Regions from separate parts of the Homo sapiens genome. Here all the other regions are linked to region 1. The links are contacts of gene promoters, found by promoter capture Hi-C in blood cells and fetal thymus (Javierre and others, 2016). All regions are on one chromosome and are shown on one strand. The core of a region is centred on a gene start or on the middle of the fragment in contact, and the rest is flanking DNA. Distances in the headings are between cores, read along the strand shown. Region 1 holds the start of ADGRB2 (adhesion G protein-coupled receptor B2). Region 2 has its middle 26 kb from the start of KHDRBS1. Region 3 has its middle 27 kb from the start of PTP4A2. Region 4 has its middle 8.4 kb from the start of KHDRBS1.

The links. Contacts are between HindIII fragments. The CHiCAGO score rates a contact against its expected background, and 5 or more counts as called.
Region 2: a fragment that was not itself captured here is called in contact with the fragment with the promoter of ADGRB2 in region 1 in 2 of 17 cell types (activated CD4 T cells and naive CD8 T cells); the score reaches 6.3 in activated CD4 T cells.
Region 3: a contact is called between a fragment that was not itself captured here and the fragment with the promoter of ADGRB2 in region 1, in 9 of 17 cell types (fetal thymus, naive CD4 T cells, total B cells and 6 more). The highest score is 9.8, in fetal thymus.
Region 4: a contact is called between a fragment that was not itself captured here and the fragment with the promoter of ADGRB2 in region 1, in 5 of 17 cell types (fetal thymus, M1 macrophages, naive CD8 T cells and 2 more). The highest score is 6.3, in fetal thymus.

Annotation. Positions count from the first base shown.
Region 1 is chr1:31,763,075-31,765,774 of GRCh38, forward strand. It overlaps ADGRB2 (adhesion G protein-coupled receptor B2), which reads right to left and starts at 1,266. Exons shown (of 33, transcript NM_001364857.2): 1 at 810-1,266. The HindIII fragment of the contact is 4,434 bases long and covers 1-1,822 here.
Region 2 is chr1:31,986,283-31,988,982 of GRCh38, forward strand. No RefSeq gene overlaps it. Among named protein-coding and RNA genes, the nearest start is that of KHDRBS1, 26 kb to the right of the region's middle. The HindIII fragment of the contact is 806 bases long and covers 859-1,664 here.
Region 3 is chr1:31,963,876-31,966,575 of GRCh38, forward strand. No RefSeq gene overlaps it. Among named protein-coding and RNA genes, the nearest start is that of PTP4A2, 27 kb to the left of the region's middle. The HindIII fragment of the contact is 4,027 bases long and covers 1-2,700 here.
Region 4 is chr1:32,004,164-32,006,863 of GRCh38, forward strand. No RefSeq gene overlaps it. Among named protein-coding and RNA genes, the nearest start is that of KHDRBS1, 8.4 kb to the right of the region's middle. The HindIII fragment of the contact is 4,207 bases long and covers 1-2,700 here.

The sequences.
Region 1 (2,700 bases), core at 16-2,515:
CCCAGCTCTATGACCAGGGGTGGGAGGATAGGGATGGGGGATGGACAGATAGACTCCGGCCAAAGATGGACACGGGAGTCAGGGATGCGGGTCCAGTCGGGATCTCAGCTGGAGGGGAGGGGGCGCGGAGCAGACACGGGGGACACGGCCCCAATTCCAAGCTGAGGGGAGGGGACTTGCAGCAAGATTGGCGAGGGAAGGCGGGACTCCGGTCAGATAGATATGGGGGAGGGGGCGCTAGGGGCAGAAATAGAGAAGAAGCATGGTCGGGGTACAGGCGCGGGGGAGGGTAGAAACTATGGGCAGACATGGATGGGGACAGGAAAGACTCCGGGCAGTGATGAAGTGGAGGAGAGGAGCAGGGTCCGGCATTCAGACCGTGACGGGAAATAGAGGGGGAGACACAGTTGAGCTGCAGGTTAATGGGGGGGCTCTAATAAAGGTGGGGGGCACACTGCCCGGATCCAGGCCGAGATAGGGAAAGACTCGAGACAGCAAGCACGGTCTGTGTCAGAATTCTGGAGGGGGAGACTTTAGCATAGATGGGTAAGAGGGTCGGTCCAGGCTGGGGGAGGGGGGGGGCCGAGATTAGAGATTCACCAGCGATTAAGGGGGCCTCGGCCCTAGGTTTGGGAGTTCCCCAGAAGATGGGGGTGGGCGAACGCTGAACGAACTCAGTTCGGGCTGGGGGAGAATTCAGCAGAGACGGGTTAGGAGAGCGCCCCGAGTCCGGGCCGGTGCGGAAACTCGGGACCGCGCCGGCAGGGCTCGGTGCGAGGCCAGGTCGGGGTCTGGGGCCGAGCACTCACCTGGGCGCCGTCAGCAGCAGGAGCGGGGGCCGGCGCTGGCGGGGGCGGCCACGGGGCGCAAGTTTGCCATCCCTAAGTCGGGGACCGGGCCGGGCGCAGGGTAGGTAGCTGCAGCCGCGCGGAGGGCCGAGGCTCCCGCTCTCCCGGGCGGCGGGTGCAGAAAAGGCGCCGCGGAGCAGCGCGGGGCGGGCGGGCGGGCGGCGCCGGGCCGGGCGCGGGCTCCTGCCGCCGCCGCCGCCGCCGCCTCCTTGCCGCGCCGCCCCCCGCTCCCCCGCTCCCCCGCCCCGAGCACCGCCCGCGCCGCGCGCCGCCTCCTATTTGCGGGCGGCGGCCGCAGCCCCGGGCTCTGAGAGCCGGTGCCGCATCCTCTTCGGTCTCTGAGCGCCGCCGCCGCTGCCGCCGAACCCGGTTCCTCCGGCCGCTCCGGCCGCTGCCCGCAGCGCGCGCCGGGCCGAGTGACGGCCGAGGCGGGACGCGGCGCCTGCGCGGGCCGGGCCCGGGAGGGGGCGCGCGCCGGGCCGGGCGCGAGGAGCCGCGGGAGAAGGGGCGGGGGCGACGCGCGCCGCCTCCTGTTAAAGGGGGAACAGCGCCAGCCGAGCCGATCGTGCCCCCCACCTCCCCGCCTTGGGCCCCAGGCGCCGGCGCGGGAGAAGCCCTGGGTAAGCCCCCGCCCAGCCCGCTGCTTCTTGGACCGCAGAATGAGGCGATCCGCGACGCCCCTCCAGCTATACCCATGCCGGAGGCTTGTCGCGCCGCCAGGGTGTCCCGGGCCCTGCAGGCTGAAGCATTTGCTCACCTTCCCATGTGCATTGCATATTGCATGTCCCTGTGCATGCAGGTGCCAGTCATGTGCGCTGAACTTTGCATATGCATACAGGTGCCCTAAGTGTGCACTGCCATGTTGCCTGGGTAGGTGCATGCAAGTGCCACACACATGCACGGTGTATTAACATGTGCCCAAGTCCTGAATGCATGTTGCTTGTTCCTGTGCGCAGGGATGTTATATGTATGCAAGCTTACAGGTGCCACATGTGTGCTGAGGACTGTGGGTAACTCATGTAGCAGCCACATATGTATACTGCAATGTGACATGTTTGATGCATACTGTAAACTGCAATGTTGCACGTCCTTAGGCACGGGGATGCTACACGTGTGCAGTGTGTTACATGTTTTCCTGAGTCCCTGTCTATTCCCACAAGTGCCTTTCCCTGTGCCAGGGGCGCCCCCATGTTGCATCTGTTTGTGTAGAAGCAGCAGAGATGTACAGACCCACCCCTTCCCCATCTTGGCACTAAGCCCAGAAACAGTTGGGTGGGGCCTGAGCCCTCATGGTTCAGGCGGTACACAGGGAGATGCCCATGGTTCAGGGCTCTGGTCAGGCAGTTTGTGGCCTGGGCATGTTGCCATCAGTAAGGTAGGCCGACCAGGGACGCACCATTGCAGCCAACACAAGTAGGTTAATCCCATGGCTTTGGTCAGAGGAGAAACCAGCAGGGGGCAGCTTTGCAATAAGGGTGGGATGGTTTCAGCTTTGCGATGAGGGTGGGATGGTTTCAGGACCATACTTTTTGAAGGTTCACTAGCCAGGAAGGGCCAAATTTTCAGTGCAAAGAAGTCCTCATTTCAGCAAATACCAACCCCACCTCTCCACTGATGCCCCTTAAGTTGTGGCACCCTCAAGATGGGGCAAGAAGAGAAAAGCCTACCTCTTCCCAGGGGCAGTACCAGGAAGAGGCATAGAACCGCCCTCTTTTCCCTCCTTCTGTCCCTCCCACCTCCAGCAGCCTCGGTGACATTTGTTGTGAGTGATTGTGAGAGATTATCAACTTTAATGGAAGGAGGTAATAAGGGACGATGAAGGAATCTCACCTGTCACCTTAAGAGAATTTAT
Region 2 (2,700 bases), core at 12-2,511, 220 kb after region 1:
GCAGGAGGATCACTTATAGCCCAGGAGGTCAAAGCTGCGGTGAGCCCTGTTCATGCTACTGCACTTCAGCCTGGACAGCAAAGCAAGACCCTTTCTCTAATAAAATAAAATAAAATAAAATAAAATAAAATAAAATAAAATAAAATAAAATAAAATAAAATAAAATAAAATAAGGCTGGATGTGGTTGGTCACTCACACCTGTAAGCCCAGTACTTTGGGAAGCCAAGAAGAGAGGATTGCTTGAGCCCAGGAGTTCAAGACCAGCCTGGGCAACACAGTGAAACCTCATCTCTATGACAATACATTTAAAAATTAAGGAAAAAAAAAAAGCCAAGAACCTAATTTCTATCGTAGGTCAGGTTCCCGTGGTATCCTGCTGTCCTCCTTTGTGACATTTGGTACCTTTGGAATTGCCTGCCCGTTGACTTCCCCATCCCTCCACCTCCTGCACCCACTCTGTTCCCCTTGGCTCCAAGACTACAGGGACCAGGAACGCCTAGCAAAGTGCTTGGTTTAGCAGTTGACCAAATGAATGAGTTCTCCCACCTTCCAATGACTTTTCTCTTGCCTGGGTTTTGATTCTTCCAGAGAAAGGAGAGAACAGCTCAGCTCCATCTGTGTGTGCCGCCCAGGCCTGGCTCACACAGTTCCTGCACATTCCCCACCCAGGGCAGGGTGAAGATGCCCTCTTTCTTGTCCTGGAGAGAGATGTAAAAGCAGTAGCTCCTGCTGTCTTCACTGCCTCAGCCCTGGGGGACACCAAAATGCCTGAGACCACAACAACCTGTGAGAGGTGTGAGCAGGTGGCAGAGCCAATTACAGGAACAGGACTGGGCATTCTGGCTGACCTTGGCAGAAGCTTCTCTTCCATCTTCCTTTTATTTCTAGCAGCTGGGGGAGGAGGGAATGAAGCCCTAATTGCTTTCACCTTGAGAAAAATCTGCGGCTGACCATGTGCAGAGAGAATCATTCTGTCACACAGCAGGGGGGCTCGAAATTAGATCAGATCAGGAAGGCTGGCGTTTTCCCTGAGGCTCTCGACTAACGACCAAGGGGAAGAGAGGCACTTGGCCTAACGCCCCTCCTCACTCTGCCCTACCAGTCACACAGTGATAGCTGAGCTCTTCTCTTCTGCCCAGAACTCCACAGGGAACTCCCCATGCCTGCCCCCTCCCCACCCAGGCTGCTGTGACTAACGTGTGCCTTCACTAGGTCTTGCCCAGGCCACAACTCAGGCTGCTGGGTGAGAACTAGAGCTATTCTCACAGGCCCCCAACTGCCAGGCAGATGCCTCTGTCGACCCAGCCAGCCTGTCCCTGCCGAGTTCAGACAGGAAGGCGAGGCTGGCCCCTGGAACTACCAGGGAGAGACATCGGCCAGCCACATATGCCTGATTCTGCCCAGACACTTCTAACAATTGAGGCAGTGGGTGAACTCGCATGCTTTCTCCATCCCCGATGAAAAGCAAGTTCAAAAGCCACATACTGTCCTCAAGCCCTGGGGGAAGCCAGGACCCTGACAAAGAGGAGGCATTGTAACTCGATAGAGCAGTCTTGAGTGATACTGATGCAGTAGAGTCAACCACCACACACTCAGCATTGGAGCCACCGAGAATCATCCAGAGCGCATGTGATACTGACGTTAAGCAATTAATGGCATACAAAGCTTCAGAGCACTAGCTGGTCACCTACTGGATCCCGAGTAGAAATTTTCTGTAAGAAATTCTGGGGAAGGCCGGGCGCGGTGGCTCAAGCCTGTAATCCCAGCACTTTGGGAGGCCGAGGCGGGTGGATCACCAGGTCAGGAGATCGAGACTATCCTGGCTAACATGGTGAAACCCCATCTCTACTAAAAATACAAAAAAATTAGCCGGGCGTGCTGGTGGGTGCCTGTAGTCCCAGCTACTCAGGAGGCTGAGGCAGGAGAATGGCGTGAACCCGGGAGGCGGAGCTTGCAGTGAGCCGAGATCGTGCCACTGCACTCCAGCCTGGGCGACAGAGTGAGACCCCGTCTCAAAAAAAAAAAAAAAAAAAAACTCTGGGGAGGGCCAGGCGCAGTGGCTCACACCTGTAATCCCAGCACTTTGGCAGGCTAAGGCGGGGGAATTGCTTTAGCCCGGGAGTTTGAGACCAGCCTGGGTAGCAAAGCAAGACCCCACCTTTACAAAAAAAAAAATTAGCCAGGTGTGGTGGCACATGCCTGTGGTCCCAGCTACTTGGGGGCCGAGGTGAGAGGATAGCTTGAGCCAAGGAGGTCAAGGCTGCGGTGAGCTGTGATCACAACACCACTGCACTCCAGCCTGGAGCAAGCAAGAATTTCATTCTAAAATTAAAAAATAAAAATTCTGAGGAGGCAATAGAAACTGATAGCTTCATACATAGCCCACTGCAACAACTTTCTGGCTATGTGACTTCGATGGTGTCACTTAACCTGTCTGAGCTTCAATTTCCTCACTGCAAAATGAGATTAATAATACCTACCTCAAAGGGCTGCCATGAGAATGAAGTTAATATATGTAAACTATTTAGTGCAGCATGTTGCTCAGGAAGTGCTCACTAAACGGTCACTGTCCATATTATTATTTTATTTTATTTTATTTTATTTTATTTATTTATTTATTTTGAGACAGAGTCTCGCTCTGTCGCCCATGCTGGTGTACAGTGGCGCAATCTTGGCTCAAAGCAAGCTCCACCTCCTGG
Region 3 (2,700 bases), core at 106-2,605, 200 kb after region 1:
TTTCACTCTTGTTGCCCAGGTTGGAGTGCAATGGCGCGATCTCCGGCTCACCGCAACCTCAGCCTCCTGGGTTCAAGCGATTCTCCCATCTCAGCCTCCTAAGCAGCTGGGATTACAGGCACCACACCCAACTAATTTTGTATTTTTAGTAGAGACGGGGTTTCTCCATGTTTGTCGGGGTGGTCTGGAACTCCCAACTCCAGGTGATCCGCCCACCTCGGCCTCCCAAAGTGCTGGGATTACAGGCATGAGCCACCACGACCAGCACATACCTTCATTCTTCAGGAAGAGGAGAATTTACCTGGCTGCCCAGTCCTGCAGGGAGCTACTCCAGACAGACACTCCCTGTATAGGAAGGGCCTTCCATGAGCCTGGCAGAAGCGCTAGGCAGCTCACTACTGTCCTCTTGTGGTCAGAACAGGTCAGAGCTTGATCTAGCAAAATACCGCTCACCCAGTCTACTCTGAAAGTCAAGGTCATCCCCAGAAGTGTGACCTCTGGCTATCCCTGCAGTTAATGTGCTGCACACCAGCATCAGTAGCCCAGCACCCCATCCCAAAACGGGCCATAATCAGGGTTTAGCAGCCTAAGCCTAAAGACTGCAAACCTATCTGAACAATGCTGTCTATTCCAAGCCAGAGACTTTCAGGAGACACTCTTTTCTGACAGCTAGAGCAAGTGATGGAGAGCACGCCTGTCCACTAGAGAGAGCACTCATGGTCAGAACTTGGGGTTTCAGACTGCAGAGAAGGCAAAGTTGCAGGAAAACAACAACAATCATCCTAATCATAAAAGCCCTTGCCCTTGTATGGTTCTTTTTACTTTTCAAAGTATTTCCCAAGGCAATTTGGCATGTCCAAAGAAATTAACACAAGGATGTTTGCTACAGCAAAAGAGAATTTAGGCTGGGCGCCTGTAATCCCAGCATTTTGGGAAGCCGAGGCAGGTGCATCACCTGAGGTTGGGAGTTTGAGAACAGCCTGGCCAACAGGGTAAAACCCTGTTTCTACTAAAAATACAAAAAAATGGCCAGGCATGGTGGCTCACGCCTGTAATCCCAGCACTTTGGGAGGCCGAGGCAGGTGGATCATTTGAGGTCAGTAGTTGGAGAGTAGCCTGGCCAACATGGTGAGACCCCGTCTCTACTAAAAATACAAAAATTAGCTGGGCATGGTGGTACATGCCTGCAATCCCAACTACTCGGGAGGCTGAAGCAGGAGAATTGCTTGAACCCGGGAGGCAGAGGTTGCAGTGTGCCGAGATCGCGCCACTGCACTCCAGCCTGGGTGACAGAGTAAGACTCCGCCCCAAAAAAAACCCCGAAAAAATACAACAAAAAAGCAAAAAAATTAGCTGGGTGTGGTGGCAGGCACCTGTAATCCCAGCTACTCGGGAGGTTGAGGCGAGAGAATCGCTTGAACCTGGGAGGCAGAGGTTGCAGTGAGCTGAGACTGCACCACTGCACTCTACCCTAGATGAGAGAAACTCTGTTTCAAAAAAAAAAAAAACAGAGACAGAATCTAAACATCCTTCAGTAGGACAGTCATTTACTAAAATGGAATAGTATGCAACTGTTTAAAATATTTCTTTATTCCTTTTCCACTCCCACAGCTTCACTTGACTTAACTAGCCTTAAAAAAAAAAAAAAAAGGGTCAGGCACAGTGGCTCACGGCTGAAATTCCATCATTTTGGGAGCCCAAGGTGCGTGGACTGCTTGCACTGAGGAGTTTGAGACCATCCTGGGCAACGTGGCGAAAGTTCTTCTATACAAAAAAATACAAAAAATTAGCTGAGGTGCGGTGGTGTGCACCGGTAGTCCCAGCTACTCAGGAGGCTAAGGTGGGAGGATCGCTTGAGGCTAGGAGGTTGACACTGCAGTGAGCTCTGATCACGCCACTGCACTCCAGCTTGGGTGACAGAGTAAGACTCTAAAAAAAAAAAAAATGAGGCTGGGCACAGTGGCTCACACCTGTAATCCCAGCACTTTGGGAGGCCAAAGCAGGCAGATCACTTGAGCTCAAGAGATCGAGACCAGCCTGGCGAACATGGCGAAACCCCGTCTCTACTAAAAATACAAAACTTAGCTGGGCGTGGTAGTGGGCGCCTGTAGTCCCAGCTACTTGGGAGGCCAAGGCAGGAGAATTGCTTGAACCTGGGAGGCAGAGGTGGCAGTGAGCCAAGATTATGCCATTGCACTCCAGCCTGGGCAACAAGAGCAAAACTCCCTCTCAAAAAAAAAAAAATGACAGATAAATCTATCTGGATGTGTTGGTATGGAATAATCTTCAAGATTCATTGTTAAGATTGTTTTTAAAAGAAAAAAATAAGTTTATGTGTCTGTTTAAAATAAGAATTTGTATAGATGTAGATATATCTATTTAGGTATGTATAGAACACATTGGAAGGAAACACCTCCAATAATGACTGCCTCTGAGAATGGAGGAAAGAGGGCATGGCAGTAGGAAGGAGAACTAATTCCTACTGGATATCCTTATGTACTATTAAATTCTCTTCTTTTTTTTTTTTTTTTTTTTGAGACAGAGTCTCGCTCTGTCACCCATGCTGGAGTACAGTGGCGCGATCTTGGCTCACTGCAAGCTCCGCCTCCCGGGTTCATGCCATTCTCCTGCCTCAGCCTCCCAAGTAGCTGGGACTACAGGCGCCTGCCACCACACCCAGCTAATTTTGTGTATTTTTTT
Region 4 (2,700 bases), core at 177-2,676, 240 kb after region 1:
GAGACGGGGTTTCACCATCTTGGCCAGGTCGGTCCTGACCTTGTGATCTACCCGCCTCGGCCTACCAAAGTGCTGGGATTACAGGCGTGAGCCACTGCGCCCGGCCTAGATAGGCCCAATTTTAAAACATATGGATAGGCTAAATCTAACCTGTGAGCTGTGGTGTTCTTCCCTCCTTTCCGCGTCTGACCACGTTATCTCACTGTTCTCCACTGGCACTCTATCTCCTTATCTGAGCATCAAGACTCAGACTACCTTTTTTTTTTTTTGAGACGGAGTCTCGCTCTGTCACCCAGGCTGGAGTGCAGTGGCGCGATCTTGGCTCACTGCAAGCTCCGCCTCCCGGGTTCACGCCATTCTCCTGCCTCAGCCTCCTGAGTAGCTGGGACTACAGGCGCCCGCCACCGCGCCCGGCTAATTTTTTTTGTATTTTTAGTAGAGACGGGGTTTCACCATGTTAGCCAGGATGGTCTCAATCTCCTGACCTCGTGATCCACCCGCCTCCGCCTCCCAAAGTGCTGGGATTACAGGCGTGAGCCAGCCCGCCCGGCTCAGACTACCTTTTGGCCTTATCTCCTGCCATCTTCCATGAGCCCCTCCCCACTCATCCAAATCTAGCTCATATCCCGCAACTTGCCATTCCAGGGACCCACACCAAGTTTTGTAAAGTTTTGTTGTCTTTGCATGTGCTGTTCCTATTGATATTCATTGAGTCAACAAATATTTACTGATCAGCCAATCCAGACCAGCACTGTGCTGGGGACATAACCTTAAACACCAGAAACAAAGTTCCTGCTCTCATAGAGCTTACATTTGAGTTGCAGAGATGGAGGTTACTCAAATAATCACAAAGAGGTAAATTTTTGTGTGGTTTTTTTTTTTTTTTTTTTGAGATGGGGTATCACTCTGTCACCCAAGATGGAGTACAGTGGCATGAGCTCGGCTCACCGCAACCTCCACCTCCTGGGCTCAAGCAATCCTCCCACCTTAGCCTCCCAAGTAGCTGGGACCACAGGCTCACATCACTACACCCAGTGAATTTTTTTTTTTTTTTTTTTTTGGTAGAGACAGGGTTTCGCCATGTTGCCCAGGCTGGTCTCGAACTCCTGAGCTCAAGTAATCCACCCACCTTGGCCTCCCAAAATGCTGGGATTACAGGAATGAGCCACCACATCCAGCCCCAAAGAGGTAAATTTAAAAGGTGCTGTTTTAGGAAGGAGCCATGAAAGCATGTAACAAAGGGAGCTAAGCCAATCTGCACTAGGGGGCCTGGACACCTTCCCTGAAGAAGTGGCAATTGACTATATCGGAAGAATATATAGGAATTACAGTAGCTAAAGAAAAGAGGAGTAGCTAAAGAAAGAAAAGACAAGGGACTGGATTGGAGGAAGGGGGACAGTGATTGGAGTTTTAAGCTAAGGAACCAGAATGGGTGTGGTCGAGAGGAAGCAGGAGTCTGGCTTATTTGAGGAACTGAAAAAGGCCAGGGTTGCTAAGCACAGGAACCAGGGAGGAGAATGGCATGAGATGAGGTAAGAAAGCCATGTGTAGCTGGGCACAGTAGCACCTGTAGTCCCAGCTACTTGGGAGGCTGAGGAAGGAGGATCATTTGAGGCCAGGAGTTGGAGGCTGCAGTGAGCTATGATGGCGCCACTGCATTCCAGCCTGGGCAATACAGTGAGACCCGATCTCTATAAAAAAAGAAAAGAAAGGCATACAGGTAGGGGCAGGTCAAACATGTTAACAGGACTCAGGTCTTTATCCTAAAGGCAATAGGAAAAATACTATTCTGGCTTCTGGGTTGAAAATAGAAAAGGGGAAAAGGAGTGGAAGTAGGGGACCAGGTCAGAGGTGGCAGAAGTTCAAGAGAGGCATTATGGCACTTCAGCTGGAGGCAGAGGCAGGGGAGACAGAGAAATGTGGATGGGATTTTCAGTATTTATGAGGTAAGCAACAAAGGACTTAAGAATGGTTTGTATGTGGTGGGGGTAGAGTGATGAGGCAGAGGAGGGAAGTCAGAACAAGTCTCAGATATCCAGGGTGTGCAGTGAGTTAGGGGTGCTGTTCCCTAAGATACAGACACTGAGGAGGAGCAGGTCAGTGGCAAAGGGCAGAGTGGGAGTTTGTTTGTTTATTTATTTATTTATTTTGAGACAGTCTTTCTCTGTAACCCAGGCTGGAGTGCAGTGGTGCGATCTCGGCTCACTGCAACCTCCACCTCCCAGGTTCAAGCAATTCTCCTGCCTCAGCATCCCGTGTAGCTGGGATTAAAGGCAGGTGCCACCACACCTGGCTAATTTTTGTAGTTTTAGTAGAGACGGGGTTTTGCCATGTTGGCCAGACTCGTCTCGAACTCCTGACCTCAGCTGATCCACCCACCTCAGCCTCCCAAAGTGCTGGGATTGGGAGCCACTGCGCCCAGCCTATCTATTTATTTATTTTTGAAATGGAGTTTCACTCTTGTTGCCCAGGCTGGAGTGCAATGACGCGATCTTGGCTCACTGTAACCTCCACCTCCCAGGTTCAAGCGATTCTCCTGCCTCAGCCTCCCAAATAGCTGGGATTACAGGTGCCCGCCACCATGCCTGGGTAATTTTTATTTTTTATTTATTATTATTATTATTATTATTTTAGATGAAGTCTCGCTCTGTCGCCCAGGCTGGAGTGCAGTGATGCAATCTCGGTTCACTGCAACCTCCA